Regions from separate parts of the Homo sapiens genome. Here regions 1 and 2 are each linked to region 3. Evidence: promoter capture Hi-C in 16 types of primary human blood cells and fetal thymus (Javierre and others, 2016). All regions are on one chromosome and are shown on one strand. The core of a region is centred on a gene start or on the middle of the fragment in contact, and the rest is flanking DNA. Distances in the headings are between cores, read along the strand shown. Region 1 has its middle 21 kb from the start of LYPLAL1-AS1. Region 2 has its middle 51 kb from the start of ZC3H11B. Region 3 holds the start of LINC02869 (long intergenic non-protein coding RNA 2869).

Region 1 (3,899 bases), core at 1,061-3,560, 1.1 Mb after region 3:
CAGTGCTTAGCCACAGGACAAACTTACATCTCTCACTGGATCTGCTGTTTTCATATTGATAACGGACAAAGAAAAGGCATCCCTAAAAGTTAGTCTCAACACACAGCAAGTGGGGCCTCAGAAGAGGGATTGAAAGACTGCAGAGAAAAGCTCAGATGGGCCACATGAAGGCATATTAGTTCTGCAGGCCGTGCTGAGCTACAGCACGGCCTGCACAGACATAATGCTGCCTGCCAAAGAGCACCCTCTCCTAAAGACTTCCCCAGGGTCAAATACTGGCAACTGCATTTGGAACTATGGAAATGTTGACTGTTCTACCATCATGGGAGTCCCTTTGAACTAAATGTGTTTCTTGGGAAAATTCTTAGGAAGTGCTAATTGGAGAGTGGTTAAGCAAAGGAAAGTAGAGGTCCGGCTCGGGGGAAGAGGGAATATACCAGCTAGATATTCTCTTCCCTGGGCTAGACCTGCAGTTAAAAGCAGATCTAGGCTGACAAAGAAGGTCTGAATACCAATCTCTTCTGCCTTGGCCTTACTGACAATCAGAGGGAACCAAAACAGGGTAAAAATGGACCTAGACAGAGAGCCAGGAAGTGTGTGAAGGGAGTTCATTTAGACCAGTCACCTGGGAAGCTTTTTAACTATCCCAATGCCCATGGTCACCTCCGTGAGCAATTAAATGAGATTTCTTGGAGTGGGCCCAAGCATCAGCATTTTTAAAACTCTCTAGGTTACTCCCAAAGGCAGCCAAGTTTGGGAACCAATGCTTCCGACCATCAGCATCCACTGCTGCGGAGAAAAGTCAGGCTCTGCTTGAGCCTCAATCAGCCCCAGGCCCACAACCTCTTTCTATGTTTCTATGTTGCCTGGAGGGCAGAAAGCGGCTGTGAGCGATTTTCTAAGCTATCAATTCAGTATGCATAACCAAAAGGTTAGAGACACATCAGCAGAGGCGATTCTGTTTCAAGAAAAAGGACTTTAAGAATAGAATTAGTCTCTGCTCAGTTTACAAGGACAAAAAGCAACTGCTGCACCACCACCAGTGTGAGCCTCAGATGCCAAAGGTTTGGTAAAGGCTAAGTTTAATTGTTTCTAAGGAGAACAGGAAATATTTATTTAGGATTAGTGGCAGCTGCTCCAGGGGTACAGCTGGGGATGGTGGAAGATATAATTAAGAAAATTGTGTGAGGGAGGTCTGGAAAGCCACCAGAAGGGACAGCAGCCTTGGTAGAAGCTGTTTGCATAGGCTTTTTTGTGTGTGGGCAGCTGAGTGTTAATAGGCACTTCGGAGGAGAAAAAGATAAATATGCAGTCTAATTAGCAGCTGACTTAGGGTTGCAAGATCAAATGCAGGTAGAATCCTATTATAGCCTACACCACAGGTCCTCAAAATTGTTTTGTTGAGTGATTGCATCATAATGAGTACCTGGTAGAAATCATCACTCATATCTCCCTGTATTTTCTCACAATGCTCCCTCACCTAGAATGCCCTTCTAAAAGAGGTACATTTGGGAAGACAATGGAAGTTTATAATCATCATCAGAAATGTGCTAAAATTATCAAAAGGAAAGGAAGAGATGCCGTAAATAATGAACAAAAGTTAGGACTCTATTCATTCTTTAGTAATACCAAATGTGAGTTGTTTCAGCAAGATAAAAAATAAAAGTGACTATACCATTGCCCAAATACTCTGGGTCCTTAAACCCCAAACGGTTTAGTCAAACCTGATTCCTCGTCTTCTGTCCCTGTTGAAGGCATCAGTCTCTCTTGCAAGGCCCAAGTGGCCAAACGCCACCCACCCTGTGCATATCCCTGTGAAAAAAAGACCTTCCCTCTGTGGCCTCACCCCAAATTGTATGCACATTGCACATTTATTTCATTCTTCCTTGGATCCTATTGAGTTGTCCTACCTGCCTCCTCAACCAGGCTGTAAGTGGTAAAAGAACAGAGAATTTATTTTATCCATCTTGTAGGGGACTGTGTTCATAGTAAGTAAAGACTGAGTATCTATGAATTTGAATTACGTTAACTCAGATTCTCTCCAGAGAAAAGTTGTTTTTTTTTTTTCTCACAATACATTTCTCTCCTTCCCTACTAGTTCAAAAATGCTAAAATCAGAATGACTTTTAGATATGCCTACCAGGGGAAAAAAAATAGTTACAATGTGCAAGTACTCTCCTTTCAAAAGATATTGGGGGTTTTAAAGGATCTTAGAGAAAAATGGCCCAGTGCAGGTAAGTGACTTATGCAGGGATACTCAGCAGGTTAGGGCAGGCCAGAACTACAAGTGAAATTCAAGACTCCATGACTTCCAGCCTCTCCTCGATGTCCTTTCCCAAACTCCTGGGTGACATGACAGCCATTCTGAAAAGTTGTTCACTAACTGTCCTTCTGTTCAATAAATCCTTACTTGTCTACTGAATTAAATAATTTTGGAAATAGCTCCATCCTCTGTTCTAATTAAGATATCATTATCAGTGTTTCCTCCTCCATTTGTCTTAGCTTCTCTATTAATCATCAATTCTAACAGCTAACAAATATACTAGAGCTCCTCTCCCTCCAATACAGCCACTAGGCTACAGGAAGGCAATCTAAATTTAAATTTACTAAAATTAAGTAAAATTGAAAATCTTATCCCTAGTTTCCGTAACTACATTCAAAGGCTGAAGAGCTGCATGTGGCTAGTGGCTATGATATCGGACAGCACAGGTATAGAGCATTTCCATTGCTGCAGAAAGAAGCTACTAGGAAACTTGATAGATGAAAGAAAGGATCCTTATAATGTGAACAAGCATGCCCAAGATATCTGCCTGAAGTCTGAATTCTCTTAGTGAGATTTCTTCAAGGAGGCAGATGTGTGCATAGGTTTATCAGAGAATGCCTGAAAACTTAAATTTTTGTTTCATAGCACACCTTATTCAATCACCAGAAGACTTTAAGAATTTACTAGCAAATGTTTGGAACTCTTCTGTGGTGTAGAAAACTGTTCTTCCTTATCATCAAATAGTCCATCAGACCAAATTAGGTACGTTGTAAAGTGTCGGCATAGTTTTTGGTTTAAGGAGCCTCCCATTCCAAAATTTCATAGCCAGGAAAAAGTTATTATTTGAAGCCAGTATTTTTCAGTTTCTCCTACAGCCAGGTATGTGCTGGGTGCTTGATACTTTGTTGTTTTTAATCCTCTTAACAGTTCTTCGAGGTGTCATTGTCTACATTATATAGGTGAAGAGAATGAGCTACCCGGGTGTTAAATTACTTGCCTATTTTAGGGTGAACCAGCCATCTCAGCTTGCAAGGAACTGAGGGATTTTCCAGGATGCAGGATTTTCAGTGTCTGGGAACGCCTTAGACAAACTAAGATGGTTGGTCACCCCATCAGGTCACAAAATAAATAATTTCAGAACAAAAATCAAACTGAAGTCTTTCTAGCTCCAATGCCCAAATGTGGATAGACCTAGAATAAAATTCAAATGTGGTTATATAACAAAAATTTCTTTCTTTCTTTTTTTTTTTTTTTTTTTTTTTTTTGAGACAGACAGAGTCTCTCTCTGTCGCCCAGGCTGGAGTGCAGTGGCGCGATCTCGGCTCACTGCAAGCTCTGCCTCCCGGGTTCACGCCATTCTCCTGCCTCAGCCTCCCGAGTAGCTGGGACTACAGGCACCCACCACCACGCCCGGCTAATTTTTTGTATTTTTTTTTTTTTTTTTTTTTTTAAGTAGAGACGGGGTTTCATCATGTTAGCCAGGATGGTCTTGATCTCCTGACCTTGTGATCTGCCCACCTCAGCCTCCCAAAGTGCTGGGATTACAGGCGTGAGCCACCGCACCCGGCCAAAAATTTCTTTCTTTTAACATCCCTCATAATTCTGTCCTTATTTCCTTCCTCTGTTTCCAGTTATC
Region 2 (3,510 bases), core at 257-2,756, 1.2 Mb after region 3:
AATCATAGAATCCACCATACAACTGACAAAAAGTTTTGTTCTACCATAAAGCAATGTAAAGATTAAATGTAAAGCAATGGCCAGATTTCACTTGGAACTTTCTTCTTGTTCAAATTCACTGTAAAATCCCCTTGGTTTAAAACAATGCAAGGTATACGTCCATACCACCCTGAACGCACCCGATCTCGTCTAAAACAATGCAGGAAGAAAATCACGTATTCTGCCGGAAATTCATTTATTTATCTGTACTATAAGACCATTGACTATTCCCTCACTATTTCCATAGTTTTATTAATGCTACAGAAAGAGAAAGTAACATTTTTCCCCAAGATCCCTTCTCATTTTATGGAGTAGATATTTTGAGGCATTACCTAAGTACTCCCAAGCATCCAAATATCCAAATCTAAAATATCTAAAATATCCCAAATATCTAAACACCTCAGATGGGTAAAAGCCTACCTTTTTTTGGGAGATATTCATAAGAGGAAGAGGGAGAGAGCTCACATCCTTATTTTTAACTCATTGCTGTGTCTAAATATCCCCACTACCAGCATCTAAGCTGAATTCTCCCTAGAAATGCTCAGTGCTGGTTATCAGAAGAGAATATGACATAATGATTAACTAGCACAGTATTGACTGTTTCTACTTATCACCACCATGACAAACTGCAAGATCGAACTTCTACTCCATCCCTCATTTTTGTCCACATGAAATCAGAAACCAATTTGACCCATTTATTCACTGAAATGCTTTAATTAGATGGTCTCAGGTACTCTCCAGAAATTACTTTCACTTTCTAACTTCATCACCCACAACTTTTCGCCAGCCACCACCCCTTTAAAAAGACCTCCAACCCGGGTGCTTATTAAAATAGCAGAAGCCCAAGCTCCACCTAGACCTACTAAATTAGAAACTCTGAGATGGAGGCCCAGGAATCTGCATTTACTAAGCTTCCCCCATCACCAGGTGATTTTGATGCAAATGCATTTATTTTATTGCCGCCATAATTCTGAGGAATCACAGTAGAAGCTAACATTTATTAGACTTCTGTTTTTTGCCAGGCACTGTTTGAAACACTTCATACATGTATTAATTCTTTTAATTATCACAATAACTTTATAAGAGGGTACAGTTTTTACCCTTATTTAGATGTTGATTATCCTTTCTGAGATAAAGGGACATTAGGAAACTTATTCAAGAGCACACAGTTAGTATATGGCAAGAGAAAAGATTCAGATCCAGAGGATGTCATTCCAAGCCTGTCACTAAATCACCAGGTTTTACAATCTCTAAAACAATTATTTGTCCTCTGTCTTCTCTACTAGGCTATGAATTTGTTAAGGGCAGGAATCATAGCTTTTCATCCAGATAGCTGCAGCACTCATCCAAGTGTGTGATGAACTCAAGAAATGTTTATCGAATTGTTTATTAGGTTGGTGCAAAAGTAATTGCAGTTTTGGCCATTAAAAAGAGGTAAAAACCCAGCACTTTGAGAGGCTGAGGCAGGCAGATCACGAGGTCAAGAGATCGAGACCATCCTGGTCAACATGATCGTAGTAGAAACCCCGTCTCTACTAAAAATACAAAAATTAGCTGGGCATGGTGGTGCATGCCCCTAGTCCCAGCTGCTCGGGAGGCTGAGGCAGGAGAATTGTCTGAACCCAGGAGGTGGAGGTTGCAGTGAGCCAAGATTGCACCACTGCACTCCAGCCTGGTGACAGAGCCAGAATTCGTCTCAAAAAAAAAAAAAAAAAAAAAAAAGGTGAAAACCACAATTACTTTTGCACCAACCTATAAAATGTAGAATAAACCAAGATACAATGTTTTTGTCTATGGATAGTATTAGGCTGGTGCAAAAGTAATTGTGGTTTTTGCCATTACCTTTGCACCAACCTAATATCAGTGAGATTTTTAAAAAACCCAAAACCTCATTGACCACAAAAGTAAATAAATAAGTAAATGTGGCAGTGCTTTGGTGAAACACCAACGAGATGATGTCTGGTTTTCATTAAAAATCATAAGTAATATAATAAATATATCAAGTTAATTCATACCAGAAACCAAAGCTTACACAGCGTCATACTGTAATACCTCAGAAAGCAGTCCTGGGGACAACCAAGAGGTGCCCAGGGGTTTACTAGTGATCCCCAAACCATGTTGTCATGTCCCTGGGTCTAGGTGTAACTTCAAAACATAAAGAATACACAAGACTATATTGCTGCTTCATTCTGAGGAGAGGCATGTCACTCCTCTTCTTCCTTATCAAATACCTAGAAACTGCAGCCACACAGTTCAGTTAAGTAAACATTTCCAAATCTGTGAAGGAAGATCCAGCTAGCTGTACAGTGGTGGTAGTGCCTTTCAAGTTTGGCTCTGCTCCCTAAAAGGCATAGGCATTCACCTGTTTCATCAAGGTAGGGTATTGTCAGGTGTGTCCAAGTGCATTAGAAATGTCACCGATGTTACCAGCTGCTTCCTAAGAAGAAAAAAGACCTAGAACCCGAATTATGAACAAACAGAGTCTTATTTACATAACTGATATCAGAACTCACATGTTGTGTCCACACTTAGTCTAAGTCCAAATAAAACTGAGAAAGCACATAAACTATTCAGCCAGATATTTAGCATTTTATATATTTATAAGTATATATCTATATCTATATCTATATATCCATATCTATGGATAACTATGTAGACATTTTTCTATTTTTTAATCCAGATGTTCTGATGCTATATTTACATACGTATATACATAAATAGTCATAGTCATCAGATTTCTAATCTGTTGCTTCAACTCCCACATCTTCCAAGTTTTTGACTCAGCTAGGATCACAGGTACCCACTTCTGGATGCACACACCTCACACACAATGCTGACCCTGATGGGATTTTTAGATGAGTTTCAGGGGGTCTCAGGGAATCTCATTAAAAAAAAAACTGTCAGACCCCAGAAATTAACTATTTTCTTGTTTCCAGACTTGCTGAGGAAATATTTTTCTCTTTTTTAGAGAAAATGTATACACCATACCCTACAAGAGCATGTGTCATCTAAACTGTATAAGGGATCATTTGCTGTTGGTGACTTTGAAGTTCTGAATAAATACTCAGAACAAATATCATATTGAAAGTCAAGCCATTGACAGACATGGACACAGCCGCACATTGCCCAGCACTGCTTTGCTGCAGAGAGTTTGCTTTATAAGCTCACGACGCCAGGATAGTCCAGCATTTTGGTCACGTGGGGCTAAGACCAAATTATCAGACTGAAAAAGAAGCAGCCTTGCTTGTGCAGAGAAGGAGAGTCATCAGCATCCTGATTACTTTTAGTGATACAACATATATCTCCCTTTCTTTTCTCCAAGAGTCGTTATGAAAATGGTGATGAAGGTTGCAGCCACTGTCAGCTCCTCCAGGACCGACAACAAAAAGTAGACACCTCACTACTGAAAGTAAGATTTTATATGATTTCTGCTTCCTTTTGTGATTTGCCTCCATATTCTCCTGCCAAAGA
Region 3 (3,394 bases), core at 173-2,672:
GGTTTAATTGACTCATAATTCCACAGGGGCTCAGGAAACTTACAATCATGGCAGAAGGGGAGGCAAATGTGTCCTTCTTCACATGGTGGCGAGAGAGAAGTGCCAAACAAAGGTGGAAAAACACTTGATAAAACCATCAGATCTTGTGAGAACTCACTTGCTATCATTAGAAGAGCATGAGAGAACCATCCCATAATCTAATCACCTCCCATGAGTTCCCTCCCCAACAGGTGGGGATTACAATTCAGATTACAATTCAAGATGGGATTTCAGTGGGGACACAGATCCAGACCATATCATTCTGCCCCTGGTCCCTCCCAAATCTCACCTTTCTCACATTTCAAAACACAATTATGCCAACAGTTCCCCAGCATAATAAAGTGCACAATAAATGTAATGTGCTTGAATCATGCTGAAACCATCACCTGCCGGCACTCCCCCTGCCCACCCCCTATGGTTTGTGGAAAAATTGTCTTCCACAAAACCAGTCCCTAGTGCCAAAAAGGTTGGGGGACTGCTGATCTATGGGACTATTGGGTTGGTTTCAGTGTGAGGTGCTGGTGACTGGCACCAGAGTGGGAGCAGTCAATACACCAGGGTATTATCATTGGTTGTCTCTGAGTGTTAAGATTATGGACTATTTTTCTGCTTCTTTGTGTATTTTTAGTCTTTGCACATGTTCTACAAAGAATAAATTACTTGTGTAATCATAGGAAATAAATACTACCTCTTACCCTCTCCCCTGCCCCAGTCTGGCATAATTGAAAAATGAACGCTTAGAGAAAGGAGGTCACCCAAGATCAGACTTCAGAATTCAAATTTAATAAGATCTACTTGTTATTCACGATAGAGTTTGTCAAACATTTTCACCAAATTTTAGCAACAAGTTTGAGTGCTGCAGGAGATAACGAGAAGTGAAAAGATGGTGAGGGAGACAAAACAAAACAAAATTGGCAAAGAAAAAGATGGCATTTTAAATAGCAACACGAACAGTCTGCCTAAGGACTAATCTACTGTGTGAGAAAATGATTTTTAATTGAAAAGTTCTTTTTGAGAAAGTTTTTTAAAAGTCTTATATAAAAATATGGAATATATAAGAATTTAACTAATACCTTGTGTTTAGGGTGCATTATAACTGTATAAGGAATTTTTACATGAAAATTTGGGAGAACAAGAGAGAACATCATGTAATAATGTGATTAAACTTGTTACTCAGCCATTTTACAAATTCTGGAATATAAAGGACAAGGTAGAGTATGTTCCAAGGCAGGCAGTGGCCACACACTGCTTGGCTTGTAGGCCCTATTAGGGATTTTGGTGTTTCTCCTAAAAACCAGTGGAAAACCACTGAAGTATTTTAAGCAAGAAGTAGCTTGATCAGGCTTGAGTTTCAAAAGGTTCACTTTTTTTTTTTTTTAAACAGGGGTCATATCAGAAAGATATGTTTGATGAAATTAACTACAGAATCAAGAAGTATATACTCAAAAATGCAAATACTACAATATATAAGACAATGTAAGTACATTTTCATTAAAAAATGAATTGTGTGAGTCCCAGAAGTTACAAGATTACACCGAGAAGAACGAGTGATCATAAAGTAAAAATATTCACGATTGAACTGACCACTTATGGAACTAACCCATGCTGTACTTTCTCCCACAACGTGGCCCTGGTTTCTGTTTCTATCGTCTCTGTTCCACCTCTGTCCATCTTATGTTATCTGTCTCTCATTGACTGTTGGTGGTTGACAATACCATGTGAACACAGAGTGAAATTACATCTCTTACAAAATATGAAGGATTTCATACAGACAATAAAGGTGATATTGGAGAACTGCTTCACCAATCATGGTCATTAACTGTGAGGATCTGTGAGACTTTAACCAGCACAGCATCACTGTGGCTGACTCAGCAATTTTTTTCCACTACCAATGATTAACCTAAGCAGATGATGGTAGTCCTGTTCCTTTTACCACTTATTTATTTCAGAATGAGTTAAGCAGGCATTAAAAGCGGACTATAACTGAGGGTCTCTTTTTAAGATTTTCAAGTTGGAAAATTCTGCTTTGATGCTAAGAGGCAGAATAAAACCCAGAAAGATTCATTCAATCTGACTTATTAATATTTGGAAGAGGTCAGTTTATTCTGCTCAGTTCAATTAAAATCAAATAACTTTAGTGGATAGGAATTATTCAAAAGTTTTTAATACTAGGATCTATTACTCTAGGCAAGCCATACCTAAGTAATCTATACAGTTAGGGGCAGGCTAATTTCAGGCAGCAGGAAACAGTCAGCTAAAATAGAGCAGAGACGGAGGAAAATACCACTTGGAGTGCCACTCACATGTTTAAGGGCAGACATGAAAAGGTAGGCAAGTGTTTCTCTTTCTTTTGGCAAGCATTTTATAGGAAAAATTCTACAAAGCTAGGAGACTACCTGGTAAAGCTAAGCCCATTTAGAAGGGGAGGGAAGGAAGAAAATAATGCAAAAAGTCAGAGTTCAGTATTGACAAGGGATCTTTTCATTGCATGTGATTGATGACTGACGGTTTGCCCCTGCTTTTTGATTCCTGTTTGCTGATTTCCCATTTTATTTACCCATAATCCACTCATTACTCTGATAAACCATGGAAGCAGTGGTCCACAAATCTGTGTTAGTTTCTCTGTTCTCTCTGCAGTCTTTTAGAGGTACCTGCTAACACAGCTTTAAAGATCCCCTGTAAGTCAAAATTAGCTATGCTTGGTGGCACATGCCCATAGTCCCAGCTACTTGGGAGGCTGAGGCAGGAGAATTGCTTGAACCCGAGAGGTGGAGGTTGCAGTAAGCAGAGATCACGCCTGGGTGACAGAGCAAGACTCCATCTCAAAAAAAAAAAAAAAAAAAGAAAAATCCCCTGTAAGTTAATGACTTCCACTTTCTATCTCTTGCCTTGAACGCCCATACTTCCTTCTCCCTACAGATAATCTACCTTGAAAGAATTTGCCACCATCTCACTAAACAGGTCAGTTTAATAAAATCATTGACTCCTAATAATCTTTGCCGCTGCGGTGTTCCTGGGCACTAGGCTGGTGCTTCTTAACTCTGGCTGCATGGTAGAAATGTGTGAGGAGTTTTTTTAAAAAAAGACTAATATCATCTCAGCTTGGAGAGACTAGAATTTGATTGGTCTGGGTCGGTTATTTGGTGATTTTTTTTTTTTTTTTTTTTTGACAGAGTCTCGCTCTGTCGCCCAGGCTGGAGTGCAGTGGTGCGATCTTGGCTCACTGCAAGCTCCACCTTCCCAGTTCACACCGTTCTCCTGCCTCAGCCTCCCAAGTGGCTGGGACTACAGGCGCCTGCCACCATGCCTGGCCAGTTTTTTTTTTTGTTTTGTTTTTTGTTTGTTTTTTTTTTTT

What was found. Contacts are between HindIII fragments. The CHiCAGO score rates a contact against its expected background, and 5 or more counts as called.
Region 1: a fragment that was not itself captured here is called in contact with the fragment with the promoter of LINC02869 in region 3 in 1 of 17 cell types (M0 macrophages); the score reaches 6.3 in M0 macrophages.
Region 2: a fragment that was not itself captured here is called in contact with the fragment with the promoter of LINC02869 in region 3 in 2 of 17 cell types (monocytes and M0 macrophages); the score reaches 6.1 in monocytes.

Annotation. Positions count from the first base shown.
Region 1 is chr1:219,576,121-219,580,019 of GRCh38, forward strand. No RefSeq gene overlaps it. Among named protein-coding and RNA genes, the nearest start is that of LYPLAL1-AS1, 21 kb to the left of the region's middle. The HindIII fragment of the contact is 3,359 bases long and covers 632-3,899 here.
Region 2 is chr1:219,662,524-219,666,033 of GRCh38, forward strand. No RefSeq gene overlaps it. Among named protein-coding and RNA genes, the nearest start is that of ZC3H11B, 51 kb to the left of the region's middle. The HindIII fragment of the contact is 1,116 bases long and covers 949-2,064 here.
Region 3 is chr1:218,508,673-218,512,066 of GRCh38, forward strand. LINC02869 (long intergenic non-protein coding RNA 2869) reads left to right here and starts at 1,423. Exons shown (of 3, transcript NR_146760.1): 1 at 1,423-1,515. The HindIII fragment of the contact is 5,893 bases long and covers 1-3,394 here.